Linked DNA regions of Homo sapiens: all the other regions are linked to region 1. The links are contacts of gene promoters, found by promoter capture Hi-C in blood cells and fetal thymus (Javierre and others, 2016). All regions are on one chromosome and are shown on one strand. The core of a region is centred on a gene start or on the middle of the fragment in contact, and the rest is flanking DNA. Distances in the headings are between cores, read along the strand shown. Region 1 holds the start of NSD3 (nuclear receptor binding SET domain protein 3). Region 2 has its middle 4.3 kb from the start of ZNF703. Region 3 overlaps ADAM9 (ADAM metallopeptidase domain 9). Region 4 overlaps ADAM9 (ADAM metallopeptidase domain 9). Region 5 overlaps HTRA4 (HtrA serine peptidase 4). Region 6 overlaps PLEKHA2 (pleckstrin homology domain containing A2). Region 7 overlaps ADGRA2 (adhesion G protein-coupled receptor A2).

Region 1 (2,897 bases), core at 260-2,759:
GGGCTAACAGTCTGAATTGGCCCCTTCCAGATTCATACTGATGTCGGAGAGGAAAAGGAATTTATTTACACTGCAGTGCCTTGGCAGCAAACATGGCTGCCCCTGCCCCCTTTAAATCGAAATAATCTTCACTCCCTCCCCAAAACCATCAAATTATGGCCATGTCTCTCCCTGCCTCCCTTCCATAACACAAACACATCGCCTTCTCCCTCAAAACAGTAAAACCCACACCTCCCCATTTCACAACAATCACAATCCCATAACCACCAGCTTCTCTATTCTCTAGCCTTGAAAGAAAGACACAGAATACACACAAATACAGGAACAAAAGGCCTCCCTTCCTAACACTTTAACGACCTCCATCCCCTTCTCTTCCTCCCACTCTGACGCTAAGTCGATCGTTCTCATCCCTGTCATCATTCAGTTAATTTCCTTCCCTAGCCCAATCCTGTCTTCCAGTTTCCTGCGTCTATTTCCCATTCTCCTATTGCAGCCTGCCTCATCCCCTTTCCTAATCCACCTTTTCCTTCACTTCCATTCCTCATTTCTCCCTTCATTCCCATAAAATGCCCCATTTCTCCAGCAAATTTATCCCCTTCTCCCAGACTCTTCTGGTTCCTACACTCCATCCCCAAATCTCCCTATTTATCAGTCCACCCAGGTCTGTAATCTCCATGCAACTCTTCTCCCCTTTCCCTGCCCCTCCCCGATCCATCCTTATCCCCGCCCCCATCCCACTTTCCCAATTCCCAGCTCAGCGCCACTCCGACTCCCATCCCACTCCCCACCTCCCCTGGCCCACCCCCCAATTCCCTCCACACCCCCCACCTTGCCATCTGCTCCTCCGTCAGGACTCCCCTCGAGCCCTTTCAGGCCACCCGCTTCCCCTTCCATTCCTCCTGGGGTCTGGCGCTCCATCCCTAGGTCGCCCCCTCCCCGTCGTTCCCTCCTCAGCCCTTCCTAGCACTACACACGCGCGCGCGCGCACACACACACACACACACACACACACATACACACACGCACACGCACTTTACCTTCAGTTTGTTCCATTCTAACCCCCCGGCCGTGTCAGTGCGATCACAGGAGAGACACGGAGGCCCGGAGTGGGGCTGGGGTGCGGGCAGCCGCTGGGGCCGCGCGAGGAGGAGGCGGAACCGAGCTAGGCCGCATGAAATCCCCGGGCTAGATTTTCCCCGCGCCGGACGCCTCTGCCATGGCGGCCGGCACTGAGGAGGGCCACGGCCGGGCCGGGCCGGGCGTGCTGCGGGAAGAGGAAGGCTCGGGAGGTGGGATGGGAAGGGGAGGCCGAGGGACGGGGGTCGCCGCGCCGCCGCTGCTGCCAGAGAGGAGCCTGCGGCTGGCAGCCCGGCCTGGGTAGCACGGTCCTCGGCGCTCGGCTCGGAATTCGCACGCCTCTCCGCGGCGACCTGTGCACAGCCCCCTCGGCCTCCGCCTCCGTGCTGGCCGCCGCCGCCGCCTCTCCCGCCGCCGCCGCGCACAAAGCCCCCCCACCCCGACTCTCGGGGCGCCGCCGCCGCCAAATCCTCAGCCCCTCATTGGCCGCGGGCCGCGGCGCCTGCCGGGAAATGCAGTCCCTGGTTCGGGACGCTGGGGCTCCGGAGGAAGCGGCGAGTCGGCGGGGCGGAGGGGGCGGGAGCGCGAACCAGGAACGCCCGCGGCAGCTAGCGTCTGGACGACTAGGGAGACCGGGCGAGAGGGCCGAGGAACGAGGGACGGGGAGGGACTGTACGTGGGAGAGTGACACACAAAACACCCCGGGAAGCCGGAGGAGGCGTGGAAAGGTGGGGCCCGGGAGGTAAAACTGGGATCGGCGCGTTCAGTGAGGCTGATTAAAGAACAACGCGCAACCAGCGCCATACGGCGCTCCTCAGGGTGACTCGGCTCTCTAGCTCTTAAGGGTTAGAAGCGACCCTCGCACGGTCCCCGGTGGGTCACCGCGCGAGGGCGGGGCAGTCCAGGCGACCCCTCGGCCGTCTCCCGTCCTACGGCTGTCAGGGAAGGGCTCCGGTTCCGGTAGGGTCTGCATTTGGAAAGCCGGGGGCGATGCAAGACCGCCTTGGCGTCGTCTCCCTCTCAGCCCCGGCTGAGCTGTCGGATGGTCCCCCTCCCCCGGTTGCAAGCAGTAGGAGACCCGGCCGGCGGCGCCGGCTCGCCGAGGGAGCGCCTCGACCTCCCCGGCAGGCGCCGGCCCCGCGCGCCTCTTCCTGCTCTGCTGCGGCCCGGAGGCTTGTGGGTAACCGGGAGGACGACGTCAGCGCCCGCCGCATCCCCGGGTGCCCCCCAGCCGCGGGGGACCGCGACGGCTCCGTGACCGTCACGTGCCGGAGGCCGCGGCTGCTCGCGGCCAGACCTTCGCATCGAGGGACGTGAGGGACATTTGTCCTAGAGGGCCCAAGATAAGAACGAGAGGAAGAACCGGGAGGCAACTCTCCGTCATCCTCTAGCCCCCCGCATCCTAGGAAACGTATGGAAAACAATGGAAGGTTAAGTGTGTGCACAGTGATCTGGCCCTGCAGGAGTGTGCCGACCAGGTGATATTTCCTGGGGCCTGGTGATAAGGATTTGGAAGGTTACAGCACAGAGACGTGAACGTAAAAAGGAAACAGAGGCAGCAAGCAAATGAGGAAACCGATACTCTGTTCTGAGAATAAAGCCATTTTACCGCTAGACGTCATACTCTGTAGACGTTATAGTGCTGGATGTCTTTGGTACTATTACAAGAAATTAGATATCTCTATCTTTAAATATCACTTAAGGAAATTAAATGATTTCTACAGATCAGTTATTTAAAAGGGCACTAATTATGAACTATTTTTTTTAAACGTAACCCGGTTAATACTAGATACTGAGAATTATCAGTATTGGCTGGGCGC
Region 2 (2,897 bases), core at 278-2,777, 690 kb before region 1:
AGCAGGATAAGTGTTCAATAGATGTTATTATTATCCTGGGAGGAACACTCACTCTGCTAACCACAATTGGCTGATAAAAAGGGTTTGACGCCTCCCAGCAACATTAGCGACTTAAAAGAGGAATCTCTAAGAAACTTGAAGGTCCAAAGGAACAAAGCAGTCAGGGGTGAATGCCCAGGGCTAGCGTTGATGTATCAGGGCAGGTCAGGCTAAGGAAGGAGAACTTCAAAATCACACCTACTCCATCTCCCCGGCCTAGCTCCCCAGGAGCTGATAGGAGATAAACCAAACCACCCTCTTCAAAGCAGCTGCTCAAGGACCGGGATCAAACGCACAGGCTTGGAGACAAGCTTTGGTCCGCACTTCCTTTTGTCCCTTCCTCCCCACCACATCTCTAGAGGAAATTCTTAGGTGAGGAAAAGGAGTTCATTCTTCCTTCTTTTATCAAAAGGAGTTAGCTCTCTGTCCACACAACAACAGTGGCAGAAGGCAATAGACCAAGAACCAGGGAAGGGACCGAGAAGGACTCATTCTGTGCCCATTCTGCCAGCCTTTTGCTGTGTGTGACTTTGGACGCTCCCTTAAGCTCTCCGAGCCCATTTCCTCATCTGTCAAACAAGGATAATAACACCTGCCCAAAGGAAAGAAAATTGCTGTGAGATGCTGGACCCAAAGATGCATTTGGGGCCAGGCGCAGTGGCTCACGCCTGTAATCCCAGCACTTTGGAAGGCTGAGGCAGGAGGATCACCTGAGGTCAAGAGTTCAAGACCAGCCTGGCCAACGTGGTGAAACCCTGTCTCTACTAAAAATACAAAAATTAGCTGGGCATGATGGTGGGCGCCTGTAATCCCAGCTACTTGGGAGGCTGAGACTGGAGGAGAATCGCTTGCACCCAGGAGGCGGAGGTTGCAGTGAGCCAAGATCACGTCACTGCACTCCAGCCTGGGCAACAGAGCAAGACTCTGTCTCAAAAAAACAATGCATTTGGGAAAAGGTACTTTAACATGTTTATACAATCAACATTTTGAAAAATACAATCATCCGTGTTAAACCTTTTGGGAATACAGTGAGGTGTGATATAAATAAATAGCCCTATTTTTGTAAAATTCTTCGTTCATCAGAAACATTCACTGGGTACTAACTGCACTGAGACTGCCTGGACCTGGATTTGACACTCCAGGCTCACCTCCTACCAGCTTGGGCCTTGGGCAAGTTACTTAACCTTTCTGTGCCTGTGAAATGGAAGTAACCATAGGACCCATCTCCTAAGGTTTCTGCAAGGATTAAATGAGAGAATGCACGCAAAGTGCTTAGAACAGCGTTTGGCACTCAACGTTGGCTACTGTGGTGATGGTGAACCGCTCTGTTAGGCAATAAGTACACAAAGAGGATGAGGAAAACAAGAAGCATTCACAGTCCAGTGGGAGATCAGACAAGGAAGCAAATAGTGGCAGATGCCATGTGATAGGTGTAATAATAGAACATAATACCAACTGTGAGAATGTAGAAGAGGGAGCCTCTTGAGTCATCGGTGGGGCGGGCTTCCTGCAGGGCTGGCTGTCCTGGTCTTAGCCTGCTTGCTCCCACTGTTCCCTGGTGCCCCTCTCGTGCCCCAGGCTGTGTCTGAAGCCGGGGGATGGGGCAGACAGAGGAAGCGCCTTCAAGTGCCCTGAGTGCAGTGTGCTAAATCAGGGCTCCCGGCCAAAGCAGTAATTGCCAGCCGCTGAAAGATATTAAGCGCCAGGGAGGAAAACCAAGTTCTCTATGAGGCAGACTTTTCAGAGTTCTTACAGCTTGTAAAAAAAAAAAAAATGTAAATAGTTACCCAGTGAGATATTATTTCATGTTGTTGCCATTAGGGTTTGAGTGTTATGCAGAGAGAGGAGAGAGAGGCGATCATTCAGGCAATTCTGCCTCGGCAAGGACTGAAAACTACACATTAACCCCACACAACAAATCTACCCCCTCTAGGTCTTAACCTGACTCGAGCATTTTTTCCTGGGTGGTGAATTTTATGTAAATTGAAGTAGTGAAAAAATAATCTATACATATTCACAGTTTCTTAAAGGATTTTCTTGATGGCTTCTAGGGAGGGATGGGCTATTTTTTTTTTTTTTTAAGACACATTGCGGGCTGGGCACGGTGGCTCATGCCTGTAATTCCAGCACTTTCGGAGGCTGAGGCCGGCAGATCACTTGAGGTCAGGAGTTCAAGACCAGCCTGGCCAACATGGAGAAACCCCATCTCTACTAAAAATACAAAAATTAGCTAGGCATCATAGCACACGCCTGTAATCCCAGCTACTCGGGAGGCTGAGGCAGGAGAATCGCTTGAACCCGAGAGGCAGAGGTTGCAGTGAGCCGAGATCATGCCACTGCACTCCAGCCTGGGCAAGACAGCAAGACTCCGTCTCAAAAAAAAAAAAAGACACATTGAACTGGAGGCTGGGGAAGGGTTACTTTCATTTCTGTAGAATTCAGAGACAACCTGGGCTCTTCTGCTTGGGTTCCCAGGGCTAAATCTGGTGCTGATGTGGCTGCTCCCCTGAGCAATTGCTCCTCAGACACAAATGATGCAATCGGTTACAGCCATCATTTACCTTCAACTTTCTTTGTGCCAAGCATGAAACAGGTGACATGCATTGTCTGCTTCTGGTCTCCCAACTCTGAAGTGGCCACGCTTCCATTTTACCCTGGAGGAAACCAAAGCTTAGGGAGGTTCACTTGCCCGGGGTCCCCACAGCAGCCTGGTTCTGGGCCTGACTCTCTTCAGCTTGAACTGAGAATGATAGCAACACCTGATGTTTATTAAGCGCCTGACATACCGAACTGTCATTCTTCACCACAGTGTCATGGGGGCACTCTCAGGCAGCCCTCTCCCCTGTCCCATTTTAATG
Region 3 (2,897 bases), core at 109-2,608, 660 kb after region 1:
TCAGTACTATCAACTTTTCTAGAGACCAGTTAGCAAAGAAGAGTTTAACATGACTACTCAGGGCAAAAAATATGTTTCTTAGAGTTCCTTGGATATACAAAAGACCAAGCTATAGATAGGGCTGCTTCTTCATTAACTAGAATGCAACATAGCTTTCACTCCTGCTGCTACTTCTGGTACCATTGCTCAAACTGATGAAAAGAGATTCAGGGTACCAAATTCCCTTGAAAAAATACAAATATATGTAAGATATAAATTTTATTGTATTTAAGATGTACAACATGTTTTGATGTAAATATAGGTGGTGAAATGGTTAGTCAAGCAGATTAACACATCCATCATTCCACATTGTTGCCCATTTTTTGTGTGTGTGGCAAAGAGCACCTATAATCTCTTTTAGCAAAAATCTTGAATGTAATACAATATTATTATCTATAGTCCTCATGCTGTACCTGAGATCTCTAGACTTGTTTGTCTTACATATCTGCTACTTTGTATCAGACCTACATGTCCCATTTCCTCCACCTCCACCATAATCAGTGTTTTATTTTCTGTCTCTGGATTTTCCACTTCTTTTTTTAGATTCCAAAATAAGTGAGATCATGCAACATTTTTCTTTTTCTGTCTGGCTTGCTTCACGCAGCATAACATCCTCCAGGTTCCTCCATGTTGTGGTAAATGTCAGGATCTCCTTTTATAAGGATGAATAATTACCAGTCTTATATGTGCCACAGTTTTGTCCATTCAACTGTTGACACTTTGTTTGTTTCCATATCTTGGCTAATGCTGCACTGAAAATGGGATAATACAGACGTCTTTATGAGGTGGTGTTTTCATTTTCTTTGGGTGTATACCCAAAAGTGAGATTGCTGGGTCATATGATAGTTCTGTTTTTAATTTCTTTAGGGAACTCCTATTGTTTTCCACAGTGGCTGCACCAATCTACATTCCCACCAACAGTGCTCAAGATTCCTTTTTTTCTATACTCTCACTAGCACTTGTCATCTCTTTTATTTATTTATTTATTTATTTGAGACAGAGTCTCTCTCTGTTGCCCAAGCTGGAGTGCAGTGGTGCAATCTCGGCTCACTACAACCTCTGCCTCCCAGGTTCAAGCGATTCTCCTACCTCAGCCTCCCAAGTAGCTGAGATTACAGACGTGCACCACCACACCTGGCTAATTTTTGTATTTTAGTAGAGACGGGGTTTTACCATGTTGGCCAGGCTGGTCTGGAACTCCTGACCTCAAGCGATCCGCCCGCCTCAGCCTCCCAAAGTGCTGGGATTACAGCGGTGAGCCACCATACCTGGCCGTTATCTCTTTTTGATGGTAGTCATCCTAACAAGGGTGAGGTGGTATTTCATTGTGGTTTTGATTTGCACTTCCTTGATGATTAATGATATTGAGCATCTTTTCATGCACCTGTTGGCCATTTTTATGTCATCTTTGGAGAAATGTCTATTTAAGTCTTTTGTTCATTTTAAAAATCGAGTTATTTGTTTTTCTACTATGGAGTTGTGTGAGTTTTAAAAAATATATTTTGGATATAAGATACATGGTTATAAGATACACCTTATAAGATATGTGGTTTGCAGATATTTTCTCCCAATCTGCAGACTTTTCATTTTGTTGGTTGTTATCTTTGCTGTGCAGAGCTTTTTAGTTTGATAGCTATAGTAATCAAAACAGCATGGTAGTGGTATAAAAACAGACACGTAGACCGATGGAACGGAATAGAGAGCCCAGAAACAAATCCAAACATGTGTAGTCAATTAATTTTTGACAAGGGCACCAGGAGGATACAATGGGGAAAGGATAGTTCTCTTCAATAAATGGTTCTGGGGTAACTGGATTTCTACATGCAAAAGAATGAAATTGGACCCTTATCATACACCATACACAAAAATCAACTCAAAATGGATAAAATACCTAAATGTCAGACTTGAAACTGTAAAACTTTCTAAGAAGAAAACGTTGAGGAAAAGCTCCTTGACATTGGCCTTAACAATGATTTTTGGATATCACACCAAAAACTCAGTCTACAAAAGCAAAAATAAAATAGAATTTTAATGTGACATGGATTCCTCAAAGATATAGGTGATGTATAGGTGTAATTTCCACTAGTTTTCAAAGGTAAAAATAGCCAGTGGGACTACCTGAAAGTATTTTATAGTTATTGAGTAAAGTAGTAGCTAAAAAAAAAATCCCAGGTAGAACATATCAAAATTGCATTTATATAAATCTCACATAGCTCAAGTTGGACATTTCTTAAAGGCCAACTAACTTTCAAAGTACTAACCACGGTTCCCAGGAATTATCATAAAATTTATTATATGTAAAGCTCAAGTTGAAAACTTGTCATATAGGAGTAGCTGAAATTCTACACTGTGCAGTCTGCCTTTTGATGGCTAGTGTGCATCTGAACTGGAGTTGCCCATTTGCATTATTTTTGCAGAGCTCCTAATAAGTGGTAATGGGCATGGGTGAACATAAAAATGTTATCCTTCAGAGTAGAAAAAAGATTGGAGACAACGTACAGCTACCTTCCAATATTTGAAGAACCTTTACTGTGTTAGATAAATAAAACTTTATTCTCATAGGACTAAATAATTTTTAAAGTCTCTTCTGATGCTGAGAATTATCATTTTGTATTTCAATGTAAGTGATATGTTTTAAAGATATTTTATTGGAAGTACAATATATTGTAAGAAAAGTGAATTATTATATAGTAGCTGAAGTAATGTTCAATATTTATCACAAGTAGATATGAATTCTCATTTCTGTCCACTTTTATTAGCTTCTTTTCTGTCATTTAAAATATTCACATTTTGTGGGTTAAAGTCATGACTTAACATTTTCAAAGTGAGTAATCACTGTGACATAGATCTTTTTCTTA
Region 4 (2,897 bases), core at 212-2,711, 620 kb after region 1:
CCCATCCCAGCCACTTAAGAGAAGTGATTAAGCAGTCTGTGGATAGCAATACAATGAAATACGATTTTGCTATCAAAATGACAAATGTGTAGGCTATGTAGATTTGTAGAAAAGTTGATACAAAAGATGTTAATCATAAAAAGTAAGGTTCACTTTAAGTCATATGTGATAATTACAACTATCAGAACTATGTTTGTTTAGCTGTAACCATCAGAAGAGGTTATTTATTCAACACATATTTTATTGAATACGTACTGTACCAGTGCAGGAAGTACATGATGAATAAGATACCGTCCTTGATCTCAAAGAACTTAAATTCTTTGCTGGAGGAACTTAAATTGTCTAGGGCATTAAATCTTAGAAATGGGTGGTGTTTTTCCCAAAGGGACACTTAAACAAACAACAGAAGCCATTTCTTTTTAAATGTAAAGATGGGTAAATATTTAAGAAAAGTGTAACACTAAAAAAAGTAAGAGTGTAGACCTAGCAGTAGAAATTATAATTAAGTATGTTTGAAGGTAGTTTTTTTTTTTTTTGAGATGGAGTCTCACACTGTTGCCCAGACTGGAGTGCAATGGCTCGATCTCAGCTCACTGCAACCTCTGCCTCCCAGGTTCAAGCGATCCTTCTGCCTCAGCCTCCTGAGTAGCTGGGATTACAGGCGCGTGCGCCACCACACCTGGCTAAATTTTGTATTTTTAGTAGAGACAGGGTTTCACCATGTTGGCAAGGCTGGTCTTGAACTCCTGACCTTGTGATCCACCCGCCTCGGCCTCCCAAAGTGCTGGGATTACAGGCATGAGCCACCACGCCCAGCCCAAAGGTAGTTATTAATATACGGTATGTATTTATCTGGAATTGACCTGGCGAATACTAGAATGATTAAAAAAAAAAAAAAAAAAAAGGCAAAAACTGCAATTACTTTTGCACCAACCTATTATATGGCTCGAAATAATAGTGCTTTGTAGATCTAATTGAAACAATTTCTCTACAAGAAATACTTTGGAAACAGAATTATCTTATTTATCCTGAATGTGGAGGCCAGGTTTATTTTTATTTTCTACAGTGGAAGTACTTAAAAGTGGCTGTTTGTTTATGTAGTAGGCAGGAGAAGCCCATGGTTTGGAGTTCACATTTGTTTGCTTTGCAATTAGGTAGAATTCTTTTTTTTTTTTTTTTTTTTTTTTGAGACAGAGTCTCACTCTGTTGCCCAGACTGGGGTGCAGTGGCACAATCTGGGGTCACTGCAACCTCCACCTCCCAGGTTCAAGTGATTCTTCTGCCTCAGCCTCCCGAGTAGCTGGGACTACAGGCACGCACCACCACGCCCGGCTAATTTTTGTATTTTTTTTTAGTAAAGACGGGGTTTCACCATATTGGCCAGGCTGGTCTGGAATTCCTGACCTCGTGATCCGCCTGCCTCGGCCTCCCAAATTGCTGGGACTATAGGCTTGAGCCACTGTGCCCGGCCACAATTAGGTAGAACTCTTTTAACTCACTTCCCTGTACTACAATTACTATTATGAAAAGTGTGCTCAGACTTCCTCTAAAACACACTACAGTGTATAGAAAGATCTACGGAGTTAGAGAAAGAAAGAAGTGCAACTAACACCTTTTCCTTTCTTTAAGATTAGACATGTTAAGTTTCATGTTTCAGTGGTTCACGTTTTCTCTTCAGGCCGTTTTCTCTTTTTCTTTTTTTTTAGACGGAGTCTCCCTCGGAGGTTGCCCAGGCTGGAGTGCAGTGGTGCAATCTCAGCTCACTGCAACCTCCCCCTCCTGGGCTAAAGTGGTTCTCAGCTCACTGCAACCTCCCCATCCTGGCTCAAGTGGTCTCGTGCCTCAGCCTCCCGAGTAGCTGGGACAACAGGAGAGCGCCACCAGGCCTGGCTAATTTTGCATGTTTTGTAGAGGCAGGGTTTCACCATGTTGGCCAGGCTGGTCTCAGACTCTTGATAAAATAAATGATTAATTGTGGCATTTTGGTTTTCAAAATGAGAATTGTGTTTAAAATGCAAAAGAGGGAAAGAAAGTTATATGTAATCTTCCTATATTTAGCTTTTATTTTACTTCATTGGCAGTCTGGGTAAAAAATTCATAGAAGACAGAAGACTTGGTTTCTAGTCTTGGCCTGAAACTTTTAGCTGTCACAACTGGGGGATGCTGTTGGCATCTAGTGGGTGGAGGCCAGGGATGCTGCAAAACATTCCACAGTACACAGGACAGCGCCCTTACAGGTTGAAGGTTTATACAAATAATATTAAAGCTCTTTTTTTATATTAATGTGGAAAAATGTTATTTTGGTTCCCATGAGAAACTGCTACTATTTGGAATTTAAAAAAAAAAAAAACAACTAAAGGGAATTTGGGGAAAATCTATGCAGGATATGAACAGGAAAAAAGAAAAAAACCTGACCTAGAGATAAGAAAGGAATTTTGGGAAAAAAACATGGGAAGGAGGATTTTCATACAATTAGTATGTATTATTTTGATGACATTCCCCCAGTATGTGCATTTGTTATGATGTTTTGGAACTTTTTATGGCATGGCTTTAATTCAGAAAGTGGTTGCTTGGATTTTAGAAGCAAGATGTCAATATCAGAATAACAGCCCTTACACACAGAAATTATTTCAGGGTGCTATAATTTTGAAAGTCTTTTAAAAATAAGTGATTAGTTACGGCATTTTGCTTTTCAAATGAGAATTGTGTTTAAAATGGAAAAGAAGGAAAAAAAGTTACGTATAATCTTCCTATATTTAGCTTTTATTTTACTTCATTGGCAGTCTCGGTAAAAGATTCATAGAAGACAGAAGACTTGGTTTCTAGTTTTGGCCTGAAACTATAAGTAAAGTAAACTAACTTTGCCTATAAAGTAACTGAACCTGTTTCAAAATGAA
Region 5 (2,897 bases), core at 272-2,771, 600 kb after region 1:
TTTCTACCTCATACCTTTAGCTTAGCAGAGCTTTGTTCCCTAAGGTCAATTTTGCTAATTCTCAGTGCAGTGTTACTGACAATCCCACAGCTTTTTACCTTTTCCATGTTTATTTTTACTTTTAAATAATAAAAAGGCAAATGCTCCTTGTCCTTCTACCTTTGTCAAAATACAAACTGTGGCTCACTTTTAAAGTCAATGTAACTTACTAAAGGAAAAAAATGAGCTTAAGTTTTTTTTTTTTTTTTTTTTTTTTTTTTTTTTTTGAGACGGAGTCTCGCTAGGTCGCCCAGGCCGGAGTGCAGTGGCGCGATCTCGGCTCACTGCAAGCTCCGCCTCCCGGGTTCACGCCATTCTCCTGCCTCAGCCTCCCGAGTAGCTGGGACTACAGGCACCCGCCACCAGGCCCGGCTAATTTTTTATATTTTTAGTAGAGATGGGGTTTCACCATGTTAGCCAGGATGGTCTCGATCTCCTGACCTCGTGATCCGCCCGCCTCGGCCTCCCAAAGTGCTGGGATTACAGGCGTGAGCCACTCTGCCCAGCCATGAGCTCAAGATTTTAAAAAGTCCTCAGCATCCTTGATCCTTTGGCCATGAAAAGAAGGTAACTTCTGCGCATGTGCAGTTACCCTTTGCTGTCCCATCACACTATTTGCCCTATAAAGGAACATCCGTTGCTCTCTTTTGAAGTACAAAGTTCCTCTCGGCCCTGTTTTCTGACCCTAAGTAACTAGCTTCACTCCTTCTTCTGCTTGTTCTGGTCTTGCACTCATCAGTTTGCAAAACTTCATGACTGAATGATGTCCCCTCCCTTGCCAGGATGGTGATGTGATTGGCGTCAATTCATTGAGGGTGACTGATGGAATCTCCTTTGCAATTCCTTCAGATCGAGTTAGGCAGTTCTTGGCAGAATACCATGAGCACCAGATGAAAGGTAAAGCAAGTTGGGATTTTTTTTTTTTTGGTTTCGTCTTGTGCTTTTCAGGAACACTCAATCTTTTGTGGTGACAGCAATTTTTTTGTTTTTGTTTTTGAGACAGAATTTTGCTCGTCATCCAGGTTGGAGTGCAGTGGCGTGATCTTGGTTTACTGCAACCTCTGCCTCCTGGGTTCAAGCGATTCTCCTGCCTCAGCCTTCCGAGTAGCTGGGACTACAGGCACCCACTGCCACGCCCAGCTCATTTTCGTATTTTCAGTAGAGACGGGGTTTCACTATGTTGGCCAGGCTGGTCTTGAACTCCTGACCTCCAGTGATCCGCTTGCCTCGGCCTCCCAAAGTGCTGGGATTACAGGCATGAACCACCATGCCTGGCCCGGAGACAGCCATTTGAATCCTGTAGACTACTGGGTCACTCATTTGTACTCAGCTCCTATAATGGTGATTTGAGCAGCAATATTGGGGGACTAGGCACAAACCAAGCATGAGTTGTACCCAGAAGTATTTGGATTGAGCTAATGTGGAAATGAAACCCAGGGGCTGGAGGTGGGAGGTGGGTGGGAGGAGTGTAAGTGCTAATGACAAAGGTTCTCTGAAGCCTGTGTTTCATCCAGGTAACCTGAAAGGACAGCTGTGATGGCAAAGAGATCCTGGGACATGGGTGTCTTTTAAGCTGCGCTAACAGGAAAGAGGTTTTGTTGTAACACATCATAACTTTCCTTTCCAGGAAAGGCGTTTTCAAATAAGAAATATCTGGGTCTGCAAATGCTGTCCCTCACTGTGCCGTAAGCATGTGTTTGAATATGTCTGGGTTGTTTTTCAGAGGCAAAAACCATAGCTGCACAGTCTTAACAGAAAAGCTGAGCCACTTGGACCACAGCCAGGTACTCTTGTGACCATAGGCCCTATCTGTCTCAGGGTATGTATCTGCCTCTGCCTGCATCAGCACTAACTATACATAGTTTATTTCATTGTGGCTGTATTTTATAATGTCCAGTGGTTCTAGGCTTTGGGATAGAGGCTCAGCCCGAACTGAGAGGAGAATGACTGTGATTAGCTTGATGGAATCTTCCTCGGCCCTTGTGAACCTTGAGCAGAACAGAGTACCTACTAAGAATTTCAGGCTTTTACCAGGGCTCAGGAGACTAATTCATTGTTTCCTAATCTTCTCACTTCTCTTAGCCTTAGTGAAGAATTGAAAATGCATTATCCAGATTTCCCTGATGTGAGTTCTGGGGTTTATGTATGTAAAGTGGTTGAAGGAACAGCTGCTCAAAGGTAAGAGAAGTGAAGGCCTTTGTCATCTACCTTTGCTTTTTCTAAATGTGTGCCATGGTAAAATGCATGGGGGATCCAGACTTGATCTGTCCAATACAGTGGCCACTACTTACATGTAGTATGTACTGAGCACATGAAATGTGGCCAGTGTGACTGAGGAACTGAATTTTGAATTAAAGTAAGTTTAATTTAAATTAAAAAACCCAGGCCAGGTGCAGTGGCTCATGCCTGTAATCCCAGCACTTTGGAAGGCCAGGGTGGGTGGATCACCTGAGGTCAGGAGTTTGAGACCAGCATGGCCAACATACTGAAACCCCGTCTCTACTAAAAATACAAAAATTAGTGGGTGCGCCTGTAATTGCAGTTACTTGGGAGGCTGAGGCAGGAGAATCGCTTGAACATGGGAGGCAGAGGTTGCAGTGAGCTGAGATCACGCCACTGTACTCCAGTCTGGGCGACAGAGCAAGACTCCACCTCAAAAAAAAAAATATTATCATTATATAGTAGTATATTGGGGGGGTGTGTTATTTCAAGTGGATTTCAAAGACATAGGAAACAGAGTGTAAAATAACTATTTTAAAAATATCACGTTAAATGATAATATTTGGATATATTGTATTAAATAAGATATATTATTAAATTAAATTCATCTATTTAAAAATTTTTAAAAATGTGGCTAC
Region 6 (2,897 bases), core at 1-2,500, 580 kb after region 1:
TAATAAATCCAGTGAATTATGGAACCAACTGGGAAGCACCAGGTGCTGGAGCAAGATTTGCCAACTTGGGTTGTTTGCGAGCAGCCTGGTCCAGGCCGGGTGCAGTGGCTCACACCTCTAATCCCAGCACTTTGGGAGGCCAAAGTGGAAGGATTGTTGGAGCCCAGGAGTGCGACACCAGCCTCAGCAACCCAGTGAGACCCCTGTCTCTAAAAACAAGCAAAAGTAAACCAAAAGAAAAGAAAAAAATAAGAGCAGCCTGGTCCAGAACCCATGATATAGAGGGTGTGGTCACAGACAACCAGGGAAGTCTGACTCTGTTGGAGAAGACCAACTTGGGGTAATTGGGTGTCTTGGCAAATGGATCATGGTGACCAAAAATCCAAGATCTGGAAATAACCAGGTATCTAAGCAGGTAGAAAGGCCAGTGATTTCAGCAAGCTTGTAAGCAGGTAAACAGTTCTCAGTTCTGGGCAAAAGTTCAAAATCACATTTCAATTCTTGAGCTACCAGGCAAGTAGAGGTCACCATTTCCCCATTTCCCATTCATAGAATGTCAAGGGAATTAGGCAGTTTATCAAGAGGGAAATTAGTTATTCGAAATGAGAAATGTGGTGCAAACTGGTCTTAGCTTGGCATAAGCCCAGTTGTTAGAACTAGGGTGCTATGTCAGGACAAGAGTAGCAATAAGTGGACTCAAGTGAGTTGCAGAGTGTTGCATTAGAGCTCTTCGGATACTTACTGTTTAATTTAGACTACAGGGTGAATGATGTCACCTAGAACTATGTAGTGTGCAATCTACACAATCGTATGTGGCAGGGCTGTGTCTAGAGATGGCACTAGTTCTTGGGAAAGGAGGGTTGCAGAGGTGGAGAACAGAATGAAGGAGGAGTTGCCTAAAAATTTTGGATAGCGGCAATGGCAGTAACCAGAAGTAGATATGGAAGCCTTTATGGCCTCTAGAATTCATTGCTTCAAACCATTGTATCTATTATAGTGCTGGGCTTATGTTAGATAGTCAATAGAAGCTCACTGGACTACAATAAAACTGCAGGCTGCAACGATTCATTTTAATACTGTCTGTCCTACTCATCTCAAAAACTGCCCTCAAGGACAGAAGCCCTGCTTTTTCTTTTGAACCGAGCACCAGAAACAGGTGCACACACATAAGCACACCAGGAAGAGATGAAGCTATGACCTTGGCACTTCCTTTTTTGTTTTACTGAGTTTAAAGTATGTTTTTAGTCTCATGGTAATTCATCATGGGTGGGTAGACTTCAGCTATATATATTTTTTTAAACCTCTGTTTCATGAAGCTACTTTGTGATGTGGTTTTACGATTTTGATGAAAGCTAAGCACAGGCTTTCCGTAAAAATAGATATGTACATAACCATAATTTTTGCATACAATTTTGGAGTTTCATTGAGTTTTTGTTTCTCATGAATCCCAGTTCTTAAAACTACTAGGAGAGATTATAGGCCAGGCCTGGTGGCTCATGCCTGTAATCCCAGCACTTTGGGAGGCTGAGGCAGGAGGATTGCTTGAGGCCAGGAATACCCTGCTCCAAAAAAAATTTAAAAATAAAACATTGTAATTGTGATCTCAATAAAATAATATTGTTTCTTCTCATATGGAATTCATTGCAATATCTGATTTTCTTTTTGAGCAGTATTTTAAAATAACATTTATTAGGGAGTAGCATTTATCTTCATGGCTGAGTTACTATCTAGGTTATCTGACCGAAAAATGTTCTTAAGAAGGAATTAGAGAATTAGGGAAGAAATATAACTAGTAAACAATTTCCGTCTTCACTAAATTACTAAATGTTTTAAGAAAGAGATTTAATTATTTTACCTATCATATTAGCAAAGATTTAAAAAATTATAATATTTAATTCTAGCAAGGGTGCATGTAACAAAAATGTTGGCAAATGAAATTTATATTATTGGCCAGAAATCTCTCTGGCCAGATGTAAGAAGAGATTTAAAAGGGTGTGAATTCTTTAATTTAGTAATTGCCTTGGGAGCTGAGGGTTCCTAAATATTCCTAAATACGAAAAAAGCTTTATCCCCAAAGATGTGAGTAGCAGCATTATTCATATGAGGAGAATAGGGAATATTCAAAAAATATTTTAGAGCAGCGATCCCCAACCCCTAAGCTGTGGACTGGTACTGGTCCATGGCCTGTTAGGAACCTGACCACACAGTAGGAGGTGAGCAGTGGGAGAGCAAACATTATCGCCTGAGTTCCACCTCCTGTCGGATCGGCAGCGGCATTAAATTCTCATAGGACTGCGAACCCTATTGTGAACTGTGCATGTGAGGGATCTAGGTTGTGCGCTTCCTATGAGAATGTAATGCCTGATGATCTGAGGTGGAACAGTTTCATCCCGAAACCACCCGTCATCCCCCTCCCTTTACCCTTCCAAGTTCATGGAAAAATTGTCTTCCACAAAACCGATCCCTATGCTGAAAAGGTTGATGACCACTGTTTTAGAGGACTAGGTGGGTGAACCATAGTATATCTACTTGGATCCCCTGAAAATGCTTACAAAGACGTCTGGTAACATGGAAAAATCCTTCTATTATTAACTGAAAAAAAAAATCAAGATATAATGTATCTTTGTATTTTGGAAAACAGAAATGAATAGCAAAAAGACTGGATTTGCTCTCAATTGTTATTTTAGAATTTTGTGAGGTTTTAAAGTGATTTTATTTTATTTTTTCTTGTTACTTCCCTTTTTTTTTTTTTTTTTTTTTTTTTTTTTTGCAAAGGTTAGGGAGAAGAGGTCTTGCTCTGTTGCCCATGCTGGTCTCGAACTCCTGGGCTTAAGCCATCTTCCCACATTCTAAACTTTAGCCTCCTAACATTGTGGGATTACAGGCTTGAACCACAG
Region 7 (2,897 bases), core at 240-2,739, 580 kb before region 1:
AATCCGTTTTCCTCCACATGGATACATGAGCCAGGGAAAAGGGGCTCCCCCGACCCCATAATGGCCTAACAAGTACAAGCGTACTCACGGGGTCCCTGTACATAAGCACTGCATGGAGTATTTGAAATCAGTCTGACCCAGGAAATGTGCAACCCATGGTCTCTAAAACGCCCTTCCAACTGTTTCCTCTTCCTCTCTGGCACCACCTCGGGTAGCTTCAGACAATGTGACCCCTATGGGTGTGGCATCCCAGAAAGGCTGTACCGTGGAGCCCGGCTCACTCAGAGAAGGATGGATGCTATCTCCTAGGTGTTGGGGAGAGAGAGGGAATTGGAGGTAGAAAGAAACTGCCGTTTGGCTTGGGGAAACCCAGGGCTCAGCAGTGAACTCTCTGTTGACCAAACATCCCCTCCATCCTGGAGCTCTGCCCCTGTCACTCAGCCAATGCCTACAGTGTATCTTCACCCCATGGGAGGAGGCAAAAGACCCAGGCTCTGCCCTTCTGTCCTTACAGTCTCCTGGAGACAGGTACCAGCTTACAACGCCGGACAGGATCAGGGTAGCAAATATAGCTTCTATGGAGGAAAGGTCAAAGATGAGTATCTGCGTAGGTAGAAAACATTGATAACTTCCATCCTTTTGGGTCTGTTTGTATTTTAAAAGAGGTCTGCGCCGCGTGTGTTGGCCCTTCCCTGTAATCTCAGCTACTCTGCAGGCTGAGGCAGGGGGATCACTTGAGGCCAGGGGTTCAAAACCATTCTGGGCACATAGAGATCCGTGTCTAAATTTTTTTTTTCTTTTTTGGCCAGTCACGGTGGCTCACGCCTGTAATTCCAACACTTTGGGAGGCCGAGGTGGGTGGATCACGAGGTCAGGAGTTCGAGACCATCCTGGCTAACACAGTGAAACCCCGTCTCTACTAAAAATACAAAAAATTAGCCGGGTGTAGTGGTGCGCGCCTGTAATCCCAGCTACTCATGAGGCTGAGGCAGGCGAGTTACTTGGACCCGGGAGGTGGAGGTTGCAGTGAGCCGAGATCGTACCACTGCACTCTAGCCTGGGCGACAGAGTGAGACTCCTTCTCAAACAAAAACAAACAAACAAACAAACAAACACTTTTTTTTGTTAGCTGGGCATGGTGGCATACTAGCTAGTCCAGAGGCTGAGGCAAGAGGAGTTCAAGACCAACCTGGGCAACATAGTGAGACCTCCATCACCACCTACCCCTCAAAGAGGTCTGCTTTCTTCACTCAAAAGTTTGGCTCCCCCCGGGGGGCTTTTAGGTTGTGCATGGAGGAAATGTTTAAGGTCAGTTGGGGGTAATTTCCCAGCCTCCACAAATCAGGGGGACACAGACACACACATAGATGAACATTCCATCCTGTTGGACACATCTCCCTCCACCTCCTATGAATGGAAGTTTGCAGATATGTGATGTATGATTTATGTTTGTAGGACTAGCCTGTTACACAAGGCTGAGTGCACAGTGGCTGTTAGGTAGCTCTGAGCAATGAATGAATGAATGGATGAATGAATGAATACCTAACTGTGGATGATTACAGCAGACTATGTTCCTTGTGCTCAAGCCAGGATGCTGTGACCCCCAAATCCCCATCAAGGTATACTGATTACCCCCAACTGTTTCCTCTTCCTCTCTGGCACCACCTCGGGTAGCTTCAGACAATGTGACCCCTATGGGTGTGGCATTTTCTTTTTCTTTTTCTTTTTCTTTTTTCTTTTTCTTTTTTTTTTTTTTTTGAGACAGAGTCGAGTCTCACTCTGTCACCCAGGCTGGAGTGCAGTGGCACGATCTTGGCTCTCTGCAACCTCTGCCTCCTGGGTTCAAGCAATTCTCCTGCCTCAGCCTCCCTAGTAGCTGGGACTACAGATGCATGCTACCTTGTCCAGCTAATTTTTGTATTTTTAATAGAGACGGGGTTTCACCATGTTGGCCAGGCTGGTCTCGAACTCCTGACCTCAAGTGATCCATCCACCTTGTCCTCCCAAAGTGCTGAGATTACAGATGTGAGCCACTGCGCCCGGCATGTAGCCCATTTTCTTAGGCTTCTGTCTCCAGATTCTGTCCCAAAGCCACAGATTCCCTTCCCATCCAAGCCCCAGTTTCTTGGTTCCCCCTGCTCACCACCAAGTTGGGGTGCCCTTGTAGAGAGGGTAGGTTAGAGAAAGGAGACTAGACCTATGAGAGAAGGCAGGGTGGAGCAGGACTCACTGCAGGTCTGTTTTCTCTCATGGCCTGGGCCTCCAGCCCTGCCTGGACAGCCCAGCTTCCAGGCTGGGTTCAGGGGCAGTCTCAGGACCCAACCCCCTAAAGCCCCTCCCTAGGCCTCCTTCTATTGCCAGTCGGTGTTCAGGGCTGACCTGACAAGCGTCCAGCCCAGGGAAGGGTGGCAGGGAAGTGCAGGAGCGGGCAGAACACCTTACATGTCCTCACCAACATTTATGTCCCTTGCAGTCAGGCTAAATGCATGTGAAGGCAGCCACGGAGGGACGGGAAGCCACAGGCCAGCCTTTCGCTTGAGGTTGTGTGTTGAAACAGGGCCTGTGCACGGCGAGCATCCTCACTTTTGGAGGTCTTACTGTCGTATCAACCATACTAAAATGTACCCACATCCGTCATCGAACATAATAATTATTGCTAATGACATAGTATGACATTGGGTAATTATGTCATTAAGCATTGGTTAATTTCCGTCTTTGCAGCATCTATATTTTAGAGGCAATGCTTCTTTTTTAGGTTTTAGGCATCTCTTTGAGCCCTGGAAATGCTCAAAGGCACAGCGGCTGCAGGGGAGGCTGAGAGCTCTGATTTCGGTGGGTGTTCGAGCCCCAGGGCTTTTTGGCATCAGCAAGCAGACTGCCCCCTACCAGTTCTGTGA

Evidence for each region. The method cuts DNA at HindIII sites, captures the fragments that hold promoters and counts their contacts. A CHiCAGO score of 5 or more calls a contact.
Region 2: a contact is called between a fragment that was not itself captured here and the fragment with the promoter of NSD3 in region 1, in 1 of 17 cell types (fetal thymus). The highest score is 5.2, in fetal thymus.
Region 3: a contact is called between a fragment that was not itself captured here and the fragment with the promoter of NSD3 in region 1, in 1 of 17 cell types (M2 macrophages). The highest score is 5.9, in M2 macrophages.
Region 4: a fragment that was not itself captured here is called in contact with the fragment with the promoter of NSD3 in region 1 in 1 of 17 cell types (neutrophils); the score reaches 12.2 in neutrophils.
Region 5: a contact is called between a fragment that was not itself captured here and the fragment with the promoter of NSD3 in region 1, in 2 of 17 cell types (naive CD8 T cells and non-activated CD4 T cells). The highest score is 7.4, in naive CD8 T cells.
Region 6: a contact is called between a fragment that was not itself captured here and the fragment with the promoter of NSD3 in region 1, in 2 of 17 cell types (fetal thymus and naive B cells). The highest score is 6.1, in fetal thymus.
Region 7: a fragment that was not itself captured here is called in contact with the fragment with the promoter of NSD3 in region 1 in 1 of 17 cell types (fetal thymus); the score reaches 8.0 in fetal thymus.

Annotation. Positions count from the first base shown.
Region 1 is chr8:38,380,762-38,383,658 of GRCh38, forward strand. It overlaps NSD3 (nuclear receptor binding SET domain protein 3), which reads right to left and starts at 1,510. Exons shown (of 24, transcript NM_023034.2): 1 at 1,038-1,510. It also overlaps a transcript of LETM2 not described here. RefSeq lists enhancers at 33-567, 858-1,648 and silencers at 1,297-1,696, 1,727-1,876, 2,067-2,416. The HindIII fragment of the contact is 5,398 bases long and covers 1-2,897 here.
Region 2 is chr8:37,690,028-37,692,924 of GRCh38, forward strand. No RefSeq gene overlaps it. Among named protein-coding and RNA genes, the nearest start is that of ZNF703, 4.3 kb to the right of the region's middle. RefSeq lists a silencer at 104-398. The HindIII fragment of the contact is 2,359 bases long and covers 349-2,707 here.
Region 3 is chr8:39,039,036-39,041,932 of GRCh38, forward strand. All of the region lies in intron 11 of ADAM9 (ADAM metallopeptidase domain 9), which reads left to right. Among named protein-coding and RNA genes, the nearest start is that of SNORD38D, 22 kb to the left of the region's middle. The HindIII fragment of the contact is 4,086 bases long and covers 1-2,897 here.
Region 4 is chr8:39,001,150-39,004,046 of GRCh38, forward strand. All of the region lies in intron 1 of ADAM9 (ADAM metallopeptidase domain 9), which reads left to right. Among named protein-coding and RNA genes, the nearest start is that of ADAM9, 5.6 kb to the left of the region's middle. RefSeq lists an enhancer at 1,635-1,774. The HindIII fragment of the contact is 5,526 bases long and covers 1-2,897 here.
Region 5 is chr8:38,980,832-38,983,728 of GRCh38, forward strand. HTRA4 (HtrA serine peptidase 4) reads left to right here. Exons shown (of 9, transcript NM_153692.4): 6 at 822-936; 7 at 1,667-1,724; 8 at 2,122-2,217. Among named protein-coding and RNA genes, the nearest start is that of HTRA4, 8.1 kb to the left of the region's middle. The HindIII fragment of the contact is 9,484 bases long and covers 1-2,897 here.
Region 6 is chr8:38,962,114-38,965,010 of GRCh38, forward strand. The region is part of intron 10 of PLEKHA2 (pleckstrin homology domain containing A2); the gene reads left to right. Among named protein-coding and RNA genes, the nearest start is that of HTRA4, 11 kb to the right of the region's middle. The HindIII fragment of the contact is 1,622 bases long and covers 440-2,061 here.
Region 7 is chr8:37,804,785-37,807,681 of GRCh38, forward strand. All of the region lies in intron 1 of ADGRA2 (adhesion G protein-coupled receptor A2), which reads left to right. Among named protein-coding and RNA genes, the nearest start is that of ADGRA2, 9.4 kb to the left of the region's middle. The HindIII fragment of the contact is 3,877 bases long and covers 1-2,897 here.